4 separate regions of the Homo sapiens genome follow, and all the other regions are linked to region 3. The links are contacts of gene promoters, found by promoter capture Hi-C in human tissues and cell types (Jung and others, 2019). All regions are on one chromosome and are shown on one strand. Each heading gives the region's core, a stretch centred on a gene start or on the middle of the fragment in contact. The rest is flanking DNA. Distances are from core to core; before and after follow the strand shown. Region 1 has its middle 42 kb from the start of SNHG20. Region 2 overlaps UBE2O (ubiquitin conjugating enzyme E2 O). Region 3 holds the start of JMJD6 (jumonji domain containing 6, arginine demethylase and lysine hydroxylase). Region 4 overlaps LOC105371896 (a long non-coding RNA gene).

Region 1 (2,700 bases), core at 33-2,532, 320 kb before region 3:
ATTGTTTTATTTAGTATGAGTGTGTATTACTTTTGCAATTAAAATAAGAGAATAAGATTTTTTTTTAAAAAAAAAAACTAGCCTTTTTACAGCCTGGGCAACATAGTGAGACCTCATCTCTACAAAAAACTTTTAAAAAATTAACCAGGCATGGTGGTGCACACCTGTAGTCCAAGCTACTGGGGAGGCTGTGGCAGGAGGATGACTTGGGCCCAGGAGGTCAAGGCTGCAGTGAGCTAGGATGGTGCCACTGCACTTCAGCCTGGGTGACAGAGTGAGACCCTGTCTCAAAAATATAAAAATAAAAAACACAACTAAATTTTTATATTAAACCAGGTACCGAATGGCATCGTAGGTTTGCAAATAAATGCTGAAATATTTATGAAAAAAGAGATTTCTTCTCTTTCAGAGATACATACTGAAATATCTATGAATGATGTTGAAGATTTGCTCAACTATAATCCGATGGCAGAGAGGGACTGGTAGAATAAAACCAAATTCACCCATGGTTGATAATTGTTAAAGCTAGGTAATGAGTACATGGATTTTCATTATAGTATCCCTCTGAGCAAATATTTGAAATTTTCTATAGTAAAAAGGATTTTTAAACAAGTGATTTTCCTCAAGCCAGAATGTTGGATGGAACATCACTGAAGTCTTGAAAGCAGCAGGAAGGCCGGGCATGGCAGCTCACGCCTATAATCCCAGCCTTTTGAGAGGCCAAGGCGGATGATCACTTGAGCCCAGGAATTCGAGACCAGCCCGGGCAACACGGTGAGACCCAGTCTCTGCAAAAAAAAAAATTAGCCAGTCACAGTGGCCCATGCCTGTCAAGTCCCAGCTACTTGGGAGGCTGAGGTGGGAGAATCACTTGAGCCCAGGAAATTGAGGCTGCAGAGAGCTATGATCATGCCACTGCACTCCAGGCTGGGTGACAGAGTGAGATCCTGTTTTATTTTTTTAAAAAAGAAAGCAGCAAGACCCTCTCTTCTCCCTACGGTCCACTGCATTTGCACACCACTGATCCCTAAAACCCAGCCCCGCAGTGCTGCCCCACTATCCACGGTGCCTTCGTCGGAGGGGGATGGCATGAAAGTTTCCAGTTGCCTGGCAATGGCTGGCAGCAAATCGATCTCCTGCTCTGTAGCACAGTAGTCGAATATTGATTATCTGGGTGATTTGAGGATTCAACTCTCTGGACGAACACATTTTTTTTTGGCTGGGGAATTGATTAGGACCATGACAGGGGGTAAGCTGAGGGAAGAGGCATTGCAGAGAAGGGCTGGGATGGGGCGAGGAGACAGGTGAGGAAGGAGTGTGGCCAGGGAGGGGGTGAGGAGAAGCTGCCTGATGTCAGACAAGGCAAGAATGTTTCTGAGAACTCAGCCCTTGCCCTCCACTCTCCGAGACCTTTTAGAAGCACTTACTTTTGATCTAGCACCTCTGCAGCTGGACGGCGCCTTGGGATGGATGGATTCCTAAGGATGGGTGACTGCACAGCATTCTGAGTGTGCCAGGATGATCTCTGTTACCAGCTAGTTCGAACTTTATTTTATTTGAGATAAGGTCTCACTCTGTCGCCGAGGCTGGAGTGCAGTGGTACTACCACAGCTCACTGCAGCCTTGACATCCTGGGCTCAAGCTATCCTACCACCCTAGCCTCTCAAGTAGCTGGGAGCACAGGTGTGCACCACCATACCATGCTAATTTTTTTTTTTTTTTTTTTTTGTAGAGACGGAGTCTCACTATGTTGTCCAGGCTGATCTCGAACTCCCGGGTTCCAGCAATCCTCCCACCTCAGCCTCCTGAGTAGCTGTGGCCATGCAGGTGCCACCACTCCCAGCTATTTAAAACATTTTTTTTCTTTTCTTTTTTTTTTTTTTTAGAAATAGAGTCTAACCATGTTGCCCAGGCTGGTCTCAAACTCCTGGGCTCAAGTGATCCTCATGCCTCAGCCTCCCAAAGTGCTGGGATTACAGGTGTGAGCCACCATGCCCAGCCTGGTTACACATATTAAGGAGGCCAAGCCTCCAGCATTGGGCCTGGATTTGGCCAATTGGCTCGAACAGCTGAACTAGCTTTGCTCTATGTATAACCATATTGATAATTAATAAGGTAAGGCTGTTTGCTGGGGAGCCTGGGCAAGATAATGAATGTGGCTCCATGTAAGGGACCCCCCATTCCTGGCAAATCTACTCCAAGTTTATTTTCTTCTTGTGGGAGGATCAGTAGTGTTAATTGCTGCCGATTTAATATTCAAAAGGACAGCTAGGGAGAATGTGGGAAGAAAGGGAAGCCTGCTCCCTTGAATTAGTCAACTATTATTGCTTAACAAATAATTCCAAAACTCAATGGCATGCAAAAGTGAGCATTTATTTCTTACTCATTTGCCTGTGGGTCAATGAGGGTTTGGCTGATCTTTTCTAGGCCCAGCTGGAGTAGGCTTCATGCTGCAAGCAGGTCCAGGCCTGCTCTGTGGGATTCCATCCTCATTGTGATGTAGGACAGGCGAACCCCAACGTTGAGGCTTAGCCCAGGAGGGTTCTTGTCTTTGCCCAGGAGATAATTCAAGGGCAGGCCGGTGGTGCTAAACAGCAATCTTTTCTGGAACGGTACTGCTCTTTGCAGAGCAGGGGTGACTCATAGGCAGTGTGCCCAGAGTCGGCAACATATGAGCTCTTGGTAACTGTATTTATACCC
Region 2 (2,700 bases), core at 71-2,570, 290 kb after region 3:
TGTATTTTTAGTAGAGACGGGGTTTCACCGTGTTAGCCAGGATGGTCTCGATCTCCTGACCTCGTGATCCGCCTGCCTTGGCCTCCCAAAGTGCTGGGATTACCGGAGTGAGCCACTGTGCCCTGCCACCTTTTTTTTTTTTTTTTAAAGATGGAGTCTCACTTTGTTGCCCAGGCTGGAGTACAGTGGTGGGATCTCAGCTCACTGCAACCTCTACCTCCTAGGTTCAGGCGATTCTCCTGCCTCAGCCTCCTGAGCAGCTAGGATTATGGGTGCCCACCACCATGCCAGCTAATTGTTTTGTTGTTGTTGTTTGTTTTGCATTTTTAGTAGAAATGGTTTCAACATGTTGGCCAGGCTGGTCTGGAACTGCTGACCTCAAGTGATCTGCCCACCTTGACCTCTCAAAGGCATGAGCCACTGCACCCAGCCTAGCATAATTGCCTTTTAAATGTTGAAATAAATGCTCCTCGTTGATCTTTCACTAATCCCCATTTTATACTCTGTCCTAAGAGGCGTTACCTTTTTTGAATTTTGTTCAGAAGGAGGGTGCTAGCCAGTGGCTTTTGATGTCAGGGCAAGGGGTCAAGTAGGATGCTTTGTAAAGAGAGGCAGTTTGGGAGTTGTGAGGAACCTTGGATAGCACTTTTGAGTAGAGAGGTGGTGGCTGGACACCAGAGCAGCAGCAGGCGAGGGACAGCGTGCAGGGCAGGGGCCTGGAGGCATCGTCTAGGCTCTCGGGGATTCAGGGTCCAGCAAGGAGGGAAAGTCCCAGGTGTAATAGTCTGTTCTTCAGTCTCTGACAATCCAGCACCGAAGAAAAATTGCTGGAGTCATCCTCTTATTTGCCTTAGATTTATAGCTTTATTCCTGATTGGTCTATTAAGTTATTTATATACTTAATACAAAAGTGCAAGGACATAGGAAAGGTGGGTAAAAAAAAAGTCACCCATAATTCTACCACTCGGGGATAACTTCTCTTTATTATTTCAGTGGATGGCTGTTCTAGTCTTTTATTTGTTAATTAATTAATAAATTAATTAATTTTTGAGATGGAGTTTGCTCTTGTTGCCCAGGCTGGAGTGCAATGGTGCTATCTCGGCTCACTGTAACCTCCGCCTCCCGGGTTCAAGCAATTCTCCTGCCTCAGCCTCCTGAGTAGCTGGGATTACAGGTGCACACCACCATGCCTGGCTAATGTTTTGTATTTTAGTAGAGACAGGCTTTCGCCATGTTGCCCAGGCTAGTCTCATACTCCTGAGCTCAGGTGATCCGCCCGTCTCAGCCTCCCAAAGTGCTAGGATTACAGGCGTGAGCCACCGCACGGGGCCTAACGATGATGAGAATTTGATGTGACATCTGCAGGATCCCCAGCTAGTCAGCAGCATCTAGAGGGCTAGAACTCTGGCCAGCTGACTGGGCCTTTTGCTAACTGTTTTCTGTCCCCTCTGTGCCGGGGTGTCACTGAGCTTTGCGGGACAGGCTGGTCTGTCGTGCCTTCAGCTCAGGGAATGTGGCTCCCGAGCATAGGGCTGGACTGAGAGGCGTTAGGTGAGCCAGAGAAGGCCTCAGACACAGGGCTTAGAGAGGGCATGTAGACCTGTGATTGCTTAGTGTCCATGACTAGAAAAGACAGAATCTTGTAGTTACTGGGGATTGCACGAGATCACCTTCGAGAGGGCTCAGCACAGCACCTGACCAGTGGTCACTGCTGCTGGGGGATAATTTAGCTCTGCGTCTGTTTCCCTGTGTTTCCAAGCCCATGCAGTAAACGGGGGGAATATTGCGAATTAGCTTGTCTGCCTCGTAAGGCCAACCTGAAAACTAAATCTTAATCTTTGTGTGTGTGTGTGTGTGTGTGTGTGTGTGTGTGTGTGTATGTGTGTGTGTGTGTATCTGTATATTTAAACAGATAATATATGCAAATATCACAACATTCAAAAGGTTTAAACAAATATGTAGTGAAATGTTTGTCTCCCTCCTACCATTTTCACTCTCCAGGGATAGCCACTGTGACCAAACTCTATGTGTGTGAGTATACCTTTTTTATATTTTAGCTTTTTACATAAATAGTAGCTTTCTGTACAACTGCTCTGTATTTGGCAGGTCAGAGCTTTGGATTCAGACAAACCTGGATCTGGATCCTGACCTTCCCGTTTGCTTCGTGGTGACTCACAGCTGGCTTGGTGCATCTCATCCCTTAGTGCCTTGCCAGGTGCGTCACCTCCCCTTTCCTCTCCTCATTGTTGTCCTTTGTGCCAGGCTGTTGGGCTAAATCCAGCCTAGTGTGCCACTGCAGGGAGAGCCCAGCTCTGCCATTTTGGGGATAGTGTAGGAATCCATGATCCCTGGATGGGCGCGCCCGAGCCCCTCTATTGGGGCAGGGTTTTCTCAGTAGCCAGAGGTACCACCGATGGAGGTGGAAGGACTATAACAGAGGTATTTGACCCAGAAGACCTTTGTGAGGGCAGAGACAAAGTTGTTTTTTTGTTTGTTTTTTTAAAAAAAAAAAAAAAAAAAAGCTTAAGTGAAAAAGCATTTCCAGAACATCGCAGGTGCCTTTCGACTTCACTCCTGACCTTTGCCATGTCGGAATTGCTTAGTTTGTGTTAGCAGTGTGGGACCACTCTGAGCTCCTTGCAGAAGCCAAGGCAAGACTCTTAAAAGGACTCTCCACAACCCAAAAGCAAACCACGGCCA
Region 3 (2,700 bases), core at 74-2,573:
AATACTGCAAAGTGAAAGTGCTTTGAAAAACCGAAGACAGGCAGGGCATGGTGGCTCACTCCTGCAATCCCAGCACTTAGGCAGGCGGGAGGATCACTTGAATCCGGGAGTTGGAGGTTGCAGTGAGCTGTGATCGCGCCACTGCGCTCCAGCCTGGGCGCCAGAGCGAGACAGTGTCTCAAAAAAAAGAAAAGAAAAAGAATTATTATTGAGAGTTTTGTTGTAGCTGTGAGCTTAGAGGAAGAAGCGAGGTCCAACCCAAGAAACACTTTGGGCACCAAATAAAACTGGAAACCCTGATCCCAAAACTCACACAAAAGTGAGAGATAAGGATGAATCAAGAAACCCTTGGACAAGATCAAAAGAAGCATTAGAGGTCAGTCAAGAATGTCACTTTCCTGGCAGGAAAGATTCGATGTGGAGAAAGCCGGCCCGGCGCAGTGGCTCATGCCTGTAATCCTAGCACTTTGGGAGGCCGAGGCAGGAGGATCACTTAAGCTTACAGTTCGAGACCAGCCTGACCAACATAGTGACCAGGGTCACTTCTTGGCAGGGTCTCCAAAATTCTTACTGAGAGACATTTAATGCACCGAAGGGCTTCATATCCGACGTTTTTGCTCCGGGGGTCAACCTAAAGCAGGAAGCTGCGCAGCTGAGCGTCCGCACCCCCGGTCCCTCAGGAACCCAGCCAAGTCAGCCGACATCCGCTCCTGACCTCAGGCGCCTCCTGGCGGGTGCTGCTGCACGCACCTGCGGGACGTGGACCTCCAGGACAGCCCCGTCGGCCCCCGGACCCGGCTCCTCCGAGAATCGAAAGCGCTGGGCCCGGACCCCCTGTCCTCGGAAATCGTGCTCGCCCAGTAGGGCGTCGTTGGGCCCCGGGCGGGCGGGGGACCGCGGAAGGCTCCGGGCTGCCAGACTGCGCGAGCGGGAAGCCGCGGGCCACGTGGCCGTAGCACCTGACGGCAAGAAGGGGAAAGCCCAGATCTGGTGATAACCCTGCCGCGCTGCGAGCGAAGAAAGCCCGGAGCAAGGCGAAAGAGACTCACACGCGCAGAACTGGCAACGGGCGGCTGGCGCGACCGGAAGTGATGGGCACAGCGGCAGCGCGGGAGGGGAGGGGCGGGGCGGGGCGGGGCGGTGACGCAGCCGACGTGACCTTCCCAACATGGCGGAGGCCCGCCGTATGTGAAGGAGTACCCCAGGGGAGCCAAAGCCAATGGAAAACCGCGAGAGGCGTCGGGGCGGGGAAGACGGCGGCCGCTTGCCCAACCCGAGGCTCGGGAGGTGGCTGGGGAGTGAATTTTCTGGAAGGCGACTTTAAAGGCGCCGGGACTGAGCGAAGGGCGTTTGGGTACTGCCGTCGCCGCCGCCCAGGCCGGGGAGGGGTGCGTTAGTGTCAGGAAGCGGGCTGCGCCGAGGTCGTAGCGGAACCAGCTGGCGACCCCGCAGAATGAACCACAAGAGCAAGAAGCGCATCCGCGAGGCCAAGCGGAGTGCGCGGCCGGAGCTCAAGGACTCGCTGGATTGGACCCGGCACAACTACTACGAGAGCTTCTCGCTGAGCCCGGCGGCCGTGGCGGTGAGCGGGTCGGGCGGGGGTGGCCAGGCCGGGCATCGGCACCTCCAGCCGCTACGCACCTTTCTCTGGGCCCGAGGCTGCCCTCGCCCCGAGCGCCCGGGACCTCGTAGAGGCTCACCCGCACCCCGCGGAGTTTGGGGTCCCCGAGGCGCGGATTCCGGGGCGGGTCTGCTTCCTCCCGTGCTGTGGCCGCCCGTCTGCTCTGGCGGACGACGGGAGTCCCACGCCTGTGGCGCTCTCAACTAGAAGGCCCGTCGTCCCTGACTCCTTTGGGCGGCGGGTCCCCTAGGGGACCTGGCTGTCAAGGCTCATGGGGGGTGGCTCTAGGAACGACGTGGCCTCACGCACGCGCCCTGCCCCCACCCCGGAGGAGCCAGACGAGAGTCAACTTCCTTCGGTTTGTCATTACCAGTTGGCCTTGGGGACACCCTTATCTGCCACTGGACTTTTTTTTTTTTTTTAACTGGACAGGTCTTTTTTAATTCCCTCAGGATAACGTGGAAAGGGCAGATGCTTTACAGCTGTCTGTGGAAGAATTTGTGGAGCGGTATGAAAGACCTTACAAGCCCGTGGTTTTGTTGAATGCGCAAGAGGGCTGGTCTGCGCAGGAGAAATGGACTCTGGAGCGCCTAAAAAGGAAATATCGGAACCAGAAGTTCAAGTGTGGTGAGGATAACGATGGCTACTCAGTGAAGATGAAGATGAAATACTACATCGAGTACATGGAGAGCACTCGAGATGATAGTCCCCTTTACATCTTTGACAGCAGCTATGGTGAACACCCTAAAAGAAGGAAACTTTTGGAAGACTACAAGGTGCCAAAGTTTTTCACTGATGACCTTTTCCAGTATGCTGGGGAGAAGCGCAGGCCCCCTTACAGGTAAAGTATTCTGCAGCTAAGTGGTTAAAATCCTTTTCTTTTTTTTTTTTTTTTTTTTTTGAGACAGAGCGTCACTCTTGTAGCCCAGGCTGCAGTGCCGTGGTGCGATCTCGGCTCACAGCAACCTCCATCTCCCGAGTTCAAGCGCTTCTCCTGCCTCAGCCTCCTGTAACTGGGATTACAGGCATGCGCCACCACACCCAGCTAATTTTGTATTTTTAGTAGAGACGGGGTTTCA
Region 4 (2,700 bases), core at 87-2,586, 480 kb after region 3:
CTTCCAGCCTGGGCAACAAGAGCGAGACTGTGTCTCAAGGAAAAAAAATTCCCAGAGTCACAGAGGAAATTTAAATGGACTAGGACTCAGCAGAAGGGAAAGAAATGTTAAAAGAAGCCAGAGTTTCTGATGAGATCATGCTTGAGGCTTTAGAAATTGTCAGGAACTCAGGAAGCCCGGGTATAGTGAAAAAAAAAAAAAAGTGAAAGAGAGAGAAAATCAAAAACAGAGAGCAAGAAACAAGTGCTGGGAAGAGAGGAGTTTGTTTACCATAAAGCCCCTGATTTGTTTGCCAGGATAGGTCCCCTTCTCCTTCAGAAACACAGCACCTCCAGAGTGAATGATGAATGAATGCCATTTCTGACCCCAACAGCCCAAGCCACACAAATCATTCTTTGGGCCAGGCATGAGGTGCTGTTAATAAAACACAGAGCCAGTGTTCTGCCTAAAGAGGAAGGAAGTATTTACTGAACACTAGAGCACTGGGTTGTACACAACCGAATTGGGAAACCACTAGAATATGCCTCATCACGAACAACATCCGTGCCACACGCTCCCGTGCCCAACACGCCCTGGGGCCTGGGAACAGTCAGAGAAAATCTTGTGTCCTGCCTTTGGGAGCTTCCAGATCAGAGCTGACCCACTGACCACACTGTGTACAGAGTCCAGTCATCAGAAGGGATTGAGCAAGGAAACAGGGTGTCCATCCAGCCCTGAAGGCAGGCAGCTGCCTACGCACTTCATGGCAGTGTTTGCAGGAGGACAGGTTACTCATCTGCTGGAGCTCTTAGAGGGAAGCTTAAGGCCAAAGAGGACTTCCATAGACAAGAGCTTCCCCGGGCCTGTTGAGGAAATAGTCCCGATACAGGAAGGAGATTGATAATACAGAGGGAAGTGAGGAGGAAAAGGAAGAAAGATTAAACCTAGAGAGAGGCACAGTGAAGGTGGAGGTGGTGGTGTGACAATGATGGAGACGTCCCCATGCATTGCCCTTTGTCACTGGCACCACCCTGGGAGAATCACTCCGCTAGCTTGGTGGGCAGTAGGGCTGGCACCCAGGCAGGCTTTCCCCACAGAGGCTGGTGAGATGATGATCCATGGGTAAAATGTAGGACTTTGAACCTGGAAGAACCTGGGGCCAGTTCCTGCTCCCTGTGCCTACTTGAGTTCCAGTTTCCTCATCTGGGAAGTGGGAACAATAATACTTATCTCTTAGGGTTGTTTTGAAGATTAAATGAGGCTCAGGTGGGAGGATCGCTTGAGCCCAGGAGGTTGAGACTGCAGTGAACTGTGATCACACCACTGCACTCCAGCTCGGGTGACAACGCATTCCAAAGTGCTTGGACAGAGTCATTGCTCAAAAATGACTATTCTTGGCTGGGCTCGGTGGTTCACGCCTATAATCCCAGCACTTTGGGAGGCCAAGGCAGGTGGATCACCTGAGGTCAGGAGTTCAAGACCAGCCTTACCAGCATGGTGAAACCCTATCTCTACTAAAAATACAAAAATTAGCTGGGCATGGTGGCATTCACCTGTAATCCCAGCTATTCGGGAGGCTGAGGCAGGAGAATCACTTGAACCTGGGAGGCAGAGGTTGCAGTGAGTCAAGATTGCGCCATTGCACATCAGCCTGGGCTACAGAGGGAGACTCCGTCTCAAAACAACAACAACAACAACAACTAAATAGTCATTCATTTAGTGAGCACTTTCTATATGGGAAGCAATGTACCCAGCCCTTCTGGGGGATTAGAAGAAACCTAAGACCAGGGGTATGCTGGTAAACTGGCTCTGGAGAATGGGAGGAAGCTGTGATTTGCAGCATTTGATGGTTTCTGTGTTGTAAATACTCCCATTACGCTACCAACAATTTAACAACTGGCTGGCAAAATTCCTGAACTATGAGCCCTGGAGAGCTGGCCCCAACTCAGTGAACTTGAACATTCTTTCTAGTTAGCAAATGGCACTTAAGTGAGAAGTTAACAATGGCAGAAGGCCGTGCACGGTGGCTCACGCCTATAATTCCAGCACTTTGGGAGGCTGAGGCGGGAGGATCACCTGAGCCCAGGAGTTCGAGACCAACCTGGGCAACATAGTGAGACCCTATCTCTTAAAAAAAATAGCCGGGTGTGGTGGCGCACTTTAGTCCCAGCTCCTCAGGAGGCTGAGGTGGGAGGATCGCCTGAGCACAGGAGGTCGAGGCTGCTGTGGGCCACGTTCATGCCACTGTATTCCAGCCTGGTGACCGTATCTCAAAACAAAAAGCAAACCCCCCAAAACAATGGCAGACAAACTCTGACCCACAAATACACACATCCGCAAATACACACACCACACACGTCCACAGATGGCTAATCCAGACAGCAGGGGCAAGAGGGCCGATTAGGGGCCTTGCTTTCTTCTAGTGCAGTGACTTGTTGGCAGTACTTTGTTAAGAAGGAGCAGGGCTGGGCTATCTTTTTCTCTGGCCCTTTAGCAGCCACCACACGTGATAAGGGAGACATGTTTCTGGCATTTTGAGTTTCAATGAACACAGAAAAGTGATGTCTCAGGAAATCGAAACCCCTGGGCTCTGCCTTCACCTGGTATGGGAAGTGCGTGGACCTCGGTTTCATCTTGGGCAGACTCTCAAATACATATCCTGACTTGGAAATCCAGAAACTCTGACTTTAAAATTATTATTATTATTATTATTTGAGACGG

Evidence for each region. The method cuts DNA at HindIII sites, captures the fragments that hold promoters and counts their contacts. A contact is called where the count stands out against the background at its distance.
Region 1: a contact is called between a fragment that was not itself captured here and the fragment with the promoter of JMJD6 in region 3, in 2 of the 25 tissues and cell types used here (IMR-90 fibroblasts and hippocampus).
Region 2: a contact is called between a fragment that was not itself captured here and the fragment with the promoter of JMJD6 in region 3, in 1 of the 25 tissues and cell types used here (mesendoderm cells).
Region 4: a fragment that was not itself captured here is called in contact with the fragment with the promoter of JMJD6 in region 3 in 1 of the 25 tissues and cell types used here (psoas muscle).

Annotation. Positions count from the first base shown.
Region 1 is chr17:77,045,668-77,048,367 of GRCh38, reverse strand. No RefSeq gene overlaps it. Among named protein-coding and RNA genes, the nearest start is that of SNHG20, 42 kb to the left of the region's middle. The HindIII fragment of the contact is 4,903 bases long and covers 1-2,700 here.
Region 2 is chr17:76,434,596-76,437,295 of GRCh38, reverse strand. The region is part of intron 1 of UBE2O (ubiquitin conjugating enzyme E2 O); the gene reads left to right. Among named protein-coding and RNA genes, the nearest start is that of UBE2O, 17 kb to the left of the region's middle. RefSeq lists an enhancer at 68-569. The HindIII fragment of the contact is 4,739 bases long and covers 1-2,700 here.
Region 3 is chr17:76,725,229-76,727,928 of GRCh38, reverse strand. JMJD6 (jumonji domain containing 6, arginine demethylase and lysine hydroxylase) reads left to right here and starts at 1,323. Exons shown (of 6, transcript NM_015167.3): 1 at 1,323-1,582; 2 at 2,074-2,462. The coding sequence starts at 1,454. METTL23 (methyltransferase 23, arginine) reads right to left here and starts at 1,090. Exons shown (of 5, transcript NM_001080510.5): 1 at 751-1,090. RefSeq lists enhancers at 1-190, 821-1,450 and silencers at 710-1,159, 1,270-1,399. The HindIII fragment of the contact is 13,681 bases long and covers 1-2,700 here.
Region 4 is chr17:76,250,185-76,252,884 of GRCh38, reverse strand. The region is part of intron 5 of LOC105371896 (a long non-coding RNA gene); the gene reads left to right. Among named protein-coding and RNA genes, the nearest start is that of RNF157, 11 kb to the right of the region's middle. RefSeq lists an enhancer at 706-775. The HindIII fragment of the contact is 5,873 bases long and covers 1-2,700 here.